Linked DNA regions of Homo sapiens: region 2 is linked to region 1. The links are contacts of gene promoters, found by promoter capture Hi-C in human tissues and cell types (Jung and others, 2019). All regions are on one chromosome and are shown on one strand. Each heading gives the region's core, a stretch centred on a gene start or on the middle of the fragment in contact. The rest is flanking DNA. Distances are from core to core; before and after follow the strand shown.

Region 1 (4,595 bases), core at 1,910-4,409:
GCACATGCGGGAGACGATCCACGCCCCACCCCGCAGATGCGGGGGAGTATCCAGGCCCCACCCCACAGACGCGGGGGACTTTCCACGCCCGGCCCCACCCCACAGACGTGGGAGACAATCCACGCCCGGCCCTACAGACGCGGGGGAGTATCCACGCCCAGCCCTACAGACGCGGGGGACTATCCACGCCTGACCCCACAGGCGCAGGAAAAAATGGTCTGGAGAAAAACACCATCAACAAAACAAAAAGATCAGGAAACTGGGAAACAAATGTGCCACTTACATCCAAAGGTGGGAAGAGAACTGTTCCAAATTAAAACACTAAAGACACATAATGAACCAAATGCACATGTGAACCTGACTGGCCCTGATGTGGGGATGGGGGTGGGAAAACTAGAAGAGGTATTCTTTTCTAAATTTTTATGGGTTTTTTTTTTTTTTTTTTTTTTTTGAGACGAAGTCTTGCTCTGTCACCCAGGCTGGAGTGCAGGGGCATGATCTCAGCTCACCGCAGCCTCCGCCTCCTGGATTCAAGCAATTCTCCAGCCTCGGCCTCCCAAGCAGCTGGGATTACAGGAGGATACCACTATGCCCGGCTAACTTTTGTTTTTGTGGTTTTTTTTAGTAGAGACGGGGTTTCACCATGTTGGCCAGGCTGGTCTCGAACTCCTGACCTCAAGCGATCGTCACACCTCAGGCTCCCGAGCAACATGCACGCACCACCACGACCAGCATATTCTGTTTTCTTTCCAGGACTCTCACCTCCAAAAAGACGTGGTCCCATTAGCCAAGGCTGCCTCTCTCCTACTGGAAGGGGTTCGGTCGGGAACTGCGCTGTTACACAGTGGCCTGCCTCCTCCCCAGCTTCTTGGGATAGGTGGTGGCCCGACTCCAGCACTTCAGGCCCTGGGAAGCCACCATCCCATGGCTTCTGAGCCGCAGGGAAGTGAGCCTAACCCCAGGTGCGCCATCACGCCCAGCCACACAACAAAAAACTTAAAAAGATGTGTTTGGAGTCAAAGTCCACCAAACCTACCAACACGGTGCGGCACCATCTGATCCCCTTTATCTCTGATCTGTGGCTACCCCAGCTGAATCCCCTCTGGCCCTGGCTGTCCTGCTCAAGGCCTTTGGCCACTCCCTTTCCTGGATCCCTTTCCCCAAATAGCCACAGCTTTACTCCCTTTTCTCCTTTAGCTTTTGGCTGAAATGTCACTTCTTAGACTTTTCCTCAGCACCCTATTTAAAGCAATCCCCACCAAGACAGGAGGATTGCTTGACGCTGGGAGTTTGGGGCCAGCCTGGGCAACATAGTGAGACTTCCATCTCTACAAGAACACTTAACATTTGCCGGGCATGGTGGCGTGCACCTGTAGTCCCAGCTACTCAGGAAGCTGAGGTTGGTGGATTGCTTCAGCCCAGGAGTTCAAGGATGCAGTGAGCTATGATTGCACTACTGCACTCCAGCCCGAGTGAGAGAGCAAGACCCCGTCTCTAAAAAATAAAAAAAGCGATCCCCCAAACAATACTCTAACACACATACACACACTCCCTCCTCTGCTTCACACATCTACATGGCATTTTTCATCATTGGCCATTCTATGTATTTTATCTAATTCTACAGGCTCAGTGCCTGTTCCTCCATCCCTCCCCATTAGACTGTCAGCTCCATGAGGACAAGCATTGGTATATCTGTGTTCGTTTCTGCAACCCCAGCACAGACCCTAACACATAAAGGTATTCGATAATAAAATTACTAAAGCTGGGCGCGGTGGCTCACGCCTATAATCCCAGCACTTTTGGAGGCCGAGATGGGCGGATCACTTGAGGTCAGGAGTTCGAGACCCGCCTGGTCAATACGGTGAAATAAACCCTATCTCTACTAAAAATACAAAAATTTGCTGGGCGTGATGGTGATGCATGCCTGTGATCCCAGCTACTCGGGAGGCTGAGGCATGAGGATCGCTTGAACCTGGGAGGCGGAGGTTGCAGTGAGCCGAGATCGTGCCACTGCACTCCAGCCTGGGCGACAGAGCGAGACTCTTGTCTCAAAAAAAAAAAAAAAAAAATTCTTGGATTTTTGTCTATTATATTTAATACTCATTCAGCGTTTAAATGATATATATACTCATGACCCACCAATTCCACTTCTGGAATCCTGCACTGGGAAACCGCTCACCTGAGGGCAAACCAAAGCACCTACACAGCATGTTCTCCACAGAACTATTTCTAATGGCCAAAAAAATGGCAAGAACCTAAATACAATCGGGGAGTGCAGTGCCATCCTATCGCGTGCTGAGCACCAAGAGAAAGAACGAAGACCTATATCATCACCATGAAGCGTCCCGAGAGATACAGCGAGTGACAACGACAAATCAGCCAAATACTCGCGCAGCATGATTTTTTAAAAAAGCGATTAGATTACAAAAACTATACGTTTTCCAGTTGCATAGACACGCACGTAAAAGCACAGAAACGCGTCTGCAAAGTCACCAGACTATTAACAGCAGTTACCTCTCGGAAAGGAAAGGAAGGACTAAGTCTGGAGATAATTTAATTCGCTACAAGAACGTTCTGGTATATTCTCTCGTACTTCCACATTAATTTTAGAAGGCTGACAAACCAATGCTTTAGACTCCGGGCCGTAACTCTCAGGGTCACTCATCCATCCTCCACTGTTGCTGCTCCCCGCGGCCACCCCCGCGCCGGCCAACAGCGCTCCTCACTCACCAGACACGGGTGAAGGATCCCTCTTGGCCTGGAGGCGACTGGCCTGAGGCAAGAACGGGTTGTTCACCCTACGGGAAGCGGCAAGGTCAGCGGGGAACGGGCCCGGGCCGTCCCCCGCTCGAGCCGCCAGCCCGCGAGGCTGCTCACCCAAACGCGTTGGGCTCCTCCACCACCTTCATCTTCGCTGCACCTGCCGGCGCGGGCCCTACGGGGAGCGAGACCGTGAGCGGGGAGGCCGGGGTGCAGAGCGCGCGCGGGGCCTGGGGACGCGGACGGCCGGGCCACTCACCGCCGGCCGAGAGCCCGAGGAGCAACAGGAGCCGCGCCAGCCCCGCCGCCATCGCGCCGCAGCGGCCGCCGCGCGGTCACGTGAAGTGACGGTCACGTGACCACGGGGACCGGAAGTGGCGTCCGGCGCAAGCGCTGGCAGCCGCACAGCCCATTGGGAGGCCGAGGGGCGCGGCCGTGGGGTGGGGAGTCCCCGGCACCCCAGGTCCGCGCCATGGGCCGCAGGAGGGCAGCGCGCGGGCCGGGGGCGGAAGGCGGCCGCCCTCGGCACCTCCCGACGCGCTCCCTGGAGGCCTTCGCCGAGGAGGTCGGCGCCGCGCTGCAGGGTGAGCGAGGCGTGATGGGGAGAGCGGGTCAGGGTTTGAGGGCCTGCCCGGGGGTCCCACGCTGAGGCCGAGTGCCCTTCTCTCTCTCGTGCAGCTTCCGTGGAGCCAGGGGCGGCTGACGGCGAGGGCGGCCCGGGCCCGGCGGCGCTGCCCTGCACGCTGGCCATGTGGGAGTTGGGCCACTGCGACCCCCGGCGCTGCACGGGCCGCAAGCTGGCCCGCCTGGGGCTGGTGCGCTGCCTGCGCCTGGGCCACAGATTCGGCGGTCTGGTGCTGAGCCCCGTGGGCAAGCAGTACGCGTCCCCCGCAGACAGGTAGGCGCGGGAGGCCTGCCCGAGGTCGTCTTCATTTCCAGCGCGTGGTTCCCTTCAGGGATGGTTTAGTGGCACTTGTATGTCGCACCCACATCCACACCCACGTGGGCAGGGAACGTCTGTCTAGTTTGCCTCCGTTGCGTAGCGCAGAGCCTGGGATAAAGGAGGTTTTGGGGTAATAAACGTTTGTTGAGTGAATAAACACATGCTCCAGGTGCCCCAAGCAGCTGCCTCAAAAGCTTGCTCGTGAAGTCCGTTTGAGGGTGTTTGGGGATGGCGGAATGATGTCCCTGAATCCCTTAGCTAGGCCATTCTCCGGGGCATGCTCCACCTTGGGTAGTGCTGGCTCCTGAACTTATCCCATGCTGTCCCTGGCAGACAGCTGGTGGCGCAGTCTGGGGTCGCCGTCATCGACTGCTCCTGGGCCAGGCTGGACGAGACACCGTTTGGGAAGATGCGAGGGAGCCACTTGCGCCTGTTGCCCTACCTGGTGGCCGCCAACCCCGTGAACTATGGCCGGCCCTACAGACTTTCCTGCGTGGAAGCGTTTGCTGCCACCTTCTGCATCGTAGGTGAGTCCAGGGGCCCCACAGCAGTGTGACCCGGCGGCCTGCTGTTCCTGCTATGCTCCCAGCATCATGTTTCCTGCCGACAGACCCCAGGAGGAGCATAAGGGACGGACAGGGGAACAGTTCAGACAGACCACGGTTCCAGCCCCAACTGTCACTTCAGGTTTTCGGCCTGTGGAGTTGCAGTAGAGGCAGAATGGGATCGCTGTTCTATCAGGGCCGGTGTGTGGGGTGCCATTCATTATCAGGGCACCACTGCCCAGAGAATCCTCCTTATCCTCCACGTCCTCCTTACTGAATTGCTGATCTAAAGAGGCCCTGATGAGGCGTGGGGCAGTCTTGGTGGGAATGTTTGTTTCGCAGCAAAG
Region 2 (5,828 bases), core at 1,482-3,981, 510 kb before region 1:
CTCTGCCTCCCAGGTTCAAGCACTTCTTCCTGCCTCAGCCTCCTGAGTAGCTGGGATTACTGGTGCCCGCTACCACGTGAGGTTTCGCCATGATGGCCAGGCTGGTCTTGAACTCCTGACCTCAGGTGATCCATCCACTTCAGCCTCCCAAAGTGCTGGGATTACAGGTATGAGCCACCATGTCCGGCCCTAAATAAGATTTTAAACTCTTGGAATTTTTTAAATGATTTATTTCATTTATTCAATTTATATATCTAAATTATATTTTCTAAAATGCAGATTAAAAAAATGGCAAACTCCTTTGCAGCGAGGATTTTCACTACCCTTTCAGATCTGCAGACAAATATGGCTAATCTGGTAGGTTTCAATAATGTGGTGATTTGCTTACTGATGACATTTTATGTGATAACATTACATCAATGTTATTGATTCATTCAACACATGCTTTTATAATTGGCAAGTATATAGATACTCATTGCATTGGTATAATTGTTAGATATTAAGTATACCTAAATTTCTTTGTATTTATGCCACCTAGATGAAAATTAATCTTTGTGTGTAGAGTAGAAGATATGATTGTAGATTTGACTAGTAATTGTTCAAAATGATCAATAGATGTATTATTTTACTTAATATTTTATAAAGTGAAAAATTTAATAAATGCTCAAATTTAGCATTGTAAAATTAAACCAGGCCAGGCACAGTGGCTCATGTCTGTAATCCCAGCACTTTGGGAGGCTGAGGCAGCTGGATCACCTGAGGTTGGGAGTTTGAGACCAGCCTGATCAACATGGAGAAACCCCATCTCTACTAAAAATACAAAATTAGCTGGGTGTGGTGGCTCATGCCTGTAATCCCAGGTACTCAGGAGGCTGAGGCAGGAGAATCGCTTGAAGCCAGAAGGCGGTCTCAGTGAGCCGAGATCGCACCATTGCACTCCAGCCTGGGCAACAAGAGCAAAACTCTTCTGAAAAAAAAAAAAAAAAAAAAAAAAAAAAAAATTAAACCATTTTGTTCAGCAGTAGCAATTTTCTGACCAAATTATCCAATTTATGGTCTAAGTACTTGACATTATGCTGCTTTTATGATATAGGTTTATAACATGTGTGTTTTCTACAATGATGATGTGAAAATTGACTCTTTGAGTAGGAGTTATAGGGGAATTCAATGATTTTGAACACATCTCGACTGTTACTTACTTAAAAGAAAACTAAGTGGAATCATCTTATAAGTTAAAGAACTTATTGTAAAGCAGCTACCACACACCCTTACCTTCCCTGCCCCTGAGCACTCTGCTATTTATATTTTGCTTTTGCAAACTAGATTTCTTACAATGGGATACATTTACATATAACTTTAATAATTTAAAATTTTAAAATATTAAAAAATAACAATTGTTGTTATAGTTTTTCTTGAAAGGTAAACTATTTGCTAATAATGGTCTCTTCAGATAGAAAGTTTTACTCAACATTTCCATTAATTGGATTTTCCAACAAAATTCAGTGAGATCTGCAAGTATAAGGAATTGAAGAAATAATATCAATGTGTCTAAATAAGCAATAAAGCTAGCTAATAGCTCAGCTAGAATGTAGGAGTCTTAAAAGCCTGATTGTAATTTAAATGTCAAGATTATTGTAAGGTTAAAATCAGTTGCTGCAATTAGCAAAATAAGTTTAGTTTTTTTCCTTTCAGAAAAGGTATTCATTTTTATTTTTTATTATTTTTTTTTTATTTTTATTTTTTGCGATGGAGTCCTGCTCTGTTGCCCAGGCTGAAGTGCAATAGTGGGATCTAAGCTCACTGCAACCTGTGCCTCTGGGTTCAAGCGATTCTCCTGCCTCAGCCTCGCGAGTAGCTGGGATTACAGGCACCCACCACCACACCTGGCTAATTTTTTGTATTTTTAGTAGAGATGGAGTTTCACCATGTTGGTCAGACTGGTCTCAAACTCATGACCTCAGGTGACCCACCCGCCTCAGCCTCCCAGAGTGCTGGGATTACACGTGTGAGCCAACACACCCGGCCCATTTTTATTTCTTAAAACACATTTAAAATTTTTCTTCAGTAGTCACTAAAGAGAACATTAAACATTTTGAGGAGATGTTAATATCTCTAAGTTTTAAGATCTAGGACTTTAGAATTTAGATTTATTAGCAGCAAAATATAAGTTTTGTTACAGTCTAATTTATATTACTGTCCAGCATGTTTGGATTAAGAAGCTAAGTGATTTTATGTGGATTGTTAGAAAACCCTATATAAAGGAAAGCTTTGAAGACTGTGGCAAATTAAATTGCATTATACATGTGCTTTGGATGAATTCAGTAAGGATTGATAGCATAGGGCAGTTATTATGCTCCATCTGGTGATTGAAAATAAAGTAGAAATATGCTAAGTATTAAATGATTATATTTGTAATAGTAGTTAACTTTTGGATTACTTTATACTATTCCTTGTGGAATTGAACATTTATGAACTTCTTTTAGATGTTTGCCTGGAATAAATACATTTAAATGGTTCCTAGTCAGAAATGTTTGTTAGAGCCAGTAAAGTATAACAAGCCCATGAAATTAAATTTATCAAGTACATCTGTGTTTAATATTGGTCTTCTGTGACCTTTTTGTTTTTCAGAAAGTTATCGGTATAGTTATTGGGAAAACAGATGTCAAAGGCTTTCCAGACAGAAAAAGCTGAGTTCTGTTTAACTCTTGGTTTCATTTTTCATCAACTTTGGCTTATGACTACAACAAAGTATATTGAAGTGATTAATTTTTCTATGCCTGTTTAACTCCTTAAGAGCAATGGTCATGCTCTCTATTGGATGGTCAAGTACCTGATTCAAGGCTTTCTCTCTCCCTCCCTCCCACATTCTCTCTCTCTCTCTATATATATGTATACATACACACATATGTGTATATATGTTTATGTGTATACACACACGTGTGTATGTGTGTGCATGTGTATGTGTGTGTATGTGTGTACACGTGTGTGTATATATGTATATTTGAGTACATGTGTTCTCTCTTTTTTTTTTTGAGATGGAGGCTCGCTCTGTCACTCAGGCTGGAGTGCAATGGCACGATCTCGACTCACTGCAACCTCTGCCTCCTGGGTTCAATCGATTCTCCTGCTTCAACCTCCCGAGTAGCTGGAATTACAGGCACATGCCATCATGCCCAGCTAATTTTTGTATTTTTAGTAGAGATGGGGTTTCACCATTTTGGCCAGGCTGGTCTTGAACTCCTGACCTCAAGTGATCTCCCTGCCTCGGCCTCCCAAAGTGCTGGAATTACAGGTGTGAGCCACCATGCCCAGCCCCTGGTTGATTTAAAAAAAACAAAAATTTGTAGAGACAGAGTCTTGCTCTGTTGCCCAGGCTGGTCTCAAACTCCTGGGCTCAAGTGATCATCCCACCTCATCCTCCTAGAGTGATCAGATTACAGGCATGATGCTTTTATCTTTAAGGTAAATAACCAAGCTGTCATCTGGTACCCATATCATTTGTGCCTGCACTTTATTTCATCTTAACTAATTAGATCAGAAATACTAAATAAATAGTTTGAGGAAGTCTATATCTCCTTTTACCAAATTTCAGAAGGCATCACTTAAAATGTGTGAATTAGAAAAAAGTAGTTATTAAAATACTTGCTAAAATTATAAAAATGAAATACACGGTTTTTTGCCAGGCACAGTGGTCACGCCTGTAATCCCAGCAGTTTGGGAGGCTGAGGTGGGCGGATCACCTGAGGTCAGGAGTTTGGGACCAGCCTAACCAACATGTAGAAACCCCCTCTCTACTAAAAATACAAAATTAGTCAGGCATGGTGGCAGGCGCTTGTATTCCCAGCTACTCGGGAGGCTGAGGCAGGAGAATCGCTTGAACCTGGGAGGCGCAGGTTGCAGTGAGCCAAGATCACGCCATTGCACTCCAGCCTGGGCAGCAAGAGTGAAACTCTGTCTCAAAAAAAAAAAAAAAAAAGAAAAGAAAAAGAAATTCACAGTTTTTCACCTATCAGACTGTGAGGGAAGGAGAAAAACTTCTGTGTTGTTTGACTTCTTTTTATGATGACATCTGTGGTATTCCTTTTTTGGAAGAAGTATGCTTACTGACTTAAAACATTGTACATATAACATTATATTTGTATCAAAAATTCCAGCAGTACCAAAGGTCACAGATTTGAAAAGTGAAATTCCCCTTTCAGCTCCTCACTCTTGCCATCCTAGTCCTCTCCCCAGAGGTAAACACTAATAGACAGTTCAGAATATGTCTATAATTTACATGTATGTTGAGTTATATTACTTTTTTTAAAAATTTGAGATAGGGTCTTGCTCTGTCACTCAGCCTGGAGTGCAGCAATGTGAATACAGCTCACTGCAGCCTCAACCCTGGGCTCAAGTGGTCTTCCTGCCTCAGCCTCGCATGTAGCCCAGACAGGTCCATGCTACTATGCCTGAATAATTTTTGGAGTTTTTGTAGAGACAGAGGGTCTCACTTTGTTGCCCAGTCTCGAACTCCTTGGCTGAAGCAATCTTACCCCCTTGGCCTCCCAAGGTGCCGGGATTATAGGCAGGAGCAACTGCGCCCAGCCAGGTTGTAATTTTTAATTAGCAAAACCAATATGAAATTTCTATTTTGGAAAAAAAGTATTTGCTGACCCCTAGTGGTCCTCATTAAGTAGCACATAATTTGTTTTGAAATAACTTATTTTAATTATTTTTAAAATTTATTTTTTTTTTTTTTGAGACAGGGTCTCACTCTGTTCTTCCCCACCTCTACTAAAAAACCTTGTCTCATCAGGCACGGTGGCTCATGCCAGCACTTTGGGAGGCTGAGGCAGGCAGATCACGAGGTCAGGAGTTCGAGACCAGCATGGCCAACATGGTGAAACCCCGTCTCTACTAAAAGTACAAAATTAGCCAGGCATGGTGGCAGGCGCCTGTAGTCCCAGCTACTTGGGAGGGTGAGGCAGGAGAATTGCTTGAACCCAGGAGGCAGAGGTTGCTGTGAGCTGAGATCGCGCCATTGCACTCCAGCCTGGGTAACAAGAGCGAAACTCCGTCTCAAAAACAAACAAAAACGAAACCCGTTTTTACTAAAAAAAAAACAAAAAACAAAAATTAGCCTGGCATGGTGGTGTGCGTCTGTAGCCCCAGCTGCTCAGGAGGCTGAGTCCCAGCTGCTGGGAGGCAGGGGTTGCAGTGAGCCGAGAGATCGCGTCACTGAACTCCAGCCTGGGTGTACATTTCATGAACACCCTGAACTCATTCTTCCCAGGCTGGAGTGCAGTGGTGCATTCAAAGCTCACCGCACACTTAAACTGGGCTCAAGCAACCTTTCCTCCTCAGCCTCCCAAGTAGCTGAGACTAAAGATGAGTGCCACCACTAATTTTAAAATTTTCTGTAGAGATGGTGTCCTTCTATGTTGCCCAGGCTGGTTTTGAACTCCAGGCCTCAAGTGATTCTCCTACCTCACCTCCCAAAGTCCTGGGATCACAGGGGTAAGCTGTTGTGCCTGGCCAATTTTTATTTTTATTTTATTATTATTTATTTATTTATTTTTGAGACAAGAGTTTTTCTCTTGTCACCCAGGCTGGATCTCGGCTCACTGCAACCTCCGCCTCCTGGGTTCAAGCGATTCTCCTGCCTCAGCCTCCCGAGTAGCTGGGATTACAGGCGCCCACCACCACGCCTGGCTAAGTTTTGTATTTTTAGCAGAGACAGGGTTTCACCATGTTGGCCAGACTGGTCTTGAACTAACCTCAGGTGATCCACCCGCCTCGGGCTCCCAAAGTGTTAGGATTACAGGCGTGAGCCATTGCGCCCGGCCTAT

Evidence for each region. The method cuts DNA at HindIII sites, captures the fragments that hold promoters and counts their contacts. A contact is called where the count stands out against the background at its distance.
Region 2: a contact is called between a fragment that was not itself captured here and the fragment with the promoter of TSR3 in region 1, in 1 of the 25 tissues and cell types used here (lymphoblastoid cells).

What each region holds. Positions count from the first base shown.
Region 1 is chr16:1,350,442-1,355,036 of GRCh38, reverse strand. It overlaps TSR3 (TSR3 ribosome maturation factor), which reads left to right and starts at 3,159. Exons shown (of 6, transcript NM_001001410.3): 1 at 3,159-3,344; 2 at 3,439-3,658; 3 at 4,037-4,230. The coding sequence starts at 3,233. It overlaps GNPTG (N-acetylglucosamine-1-phosphate transferase subunit gamma), which reads right to left and starts at 3,106. Exons shown (of 11, transcript NM_032520.5): 1 at 3,020-3,106; 2 at 2,878-2,935; 3 at 2,731-2,798. The coding sequence starts at 3,071. RefSeq lists a silencer at 2,882-3,581. The HindIII fragment of the contact is 21,021 bases long and covers 1-4,595 here.
Region 2 is chr16:1,862,636-1,868,463 of GRCh38, reverse strand. It overlaps MEIOB (meiosis specific with OB-fold), which reads left to right. Exons shown (of 14, transcript NM_001163560.3): 2 at 280-357; 3 at 2,629-2,686. The coding sequence starts at 289. Among named protein-coding and RNA genes, the nearest start is that of MEIOB, 6.6 kb to the left of the region's middle. The HindIII fragment of the contact is 4,524 bases long and covers 470-4,993 here.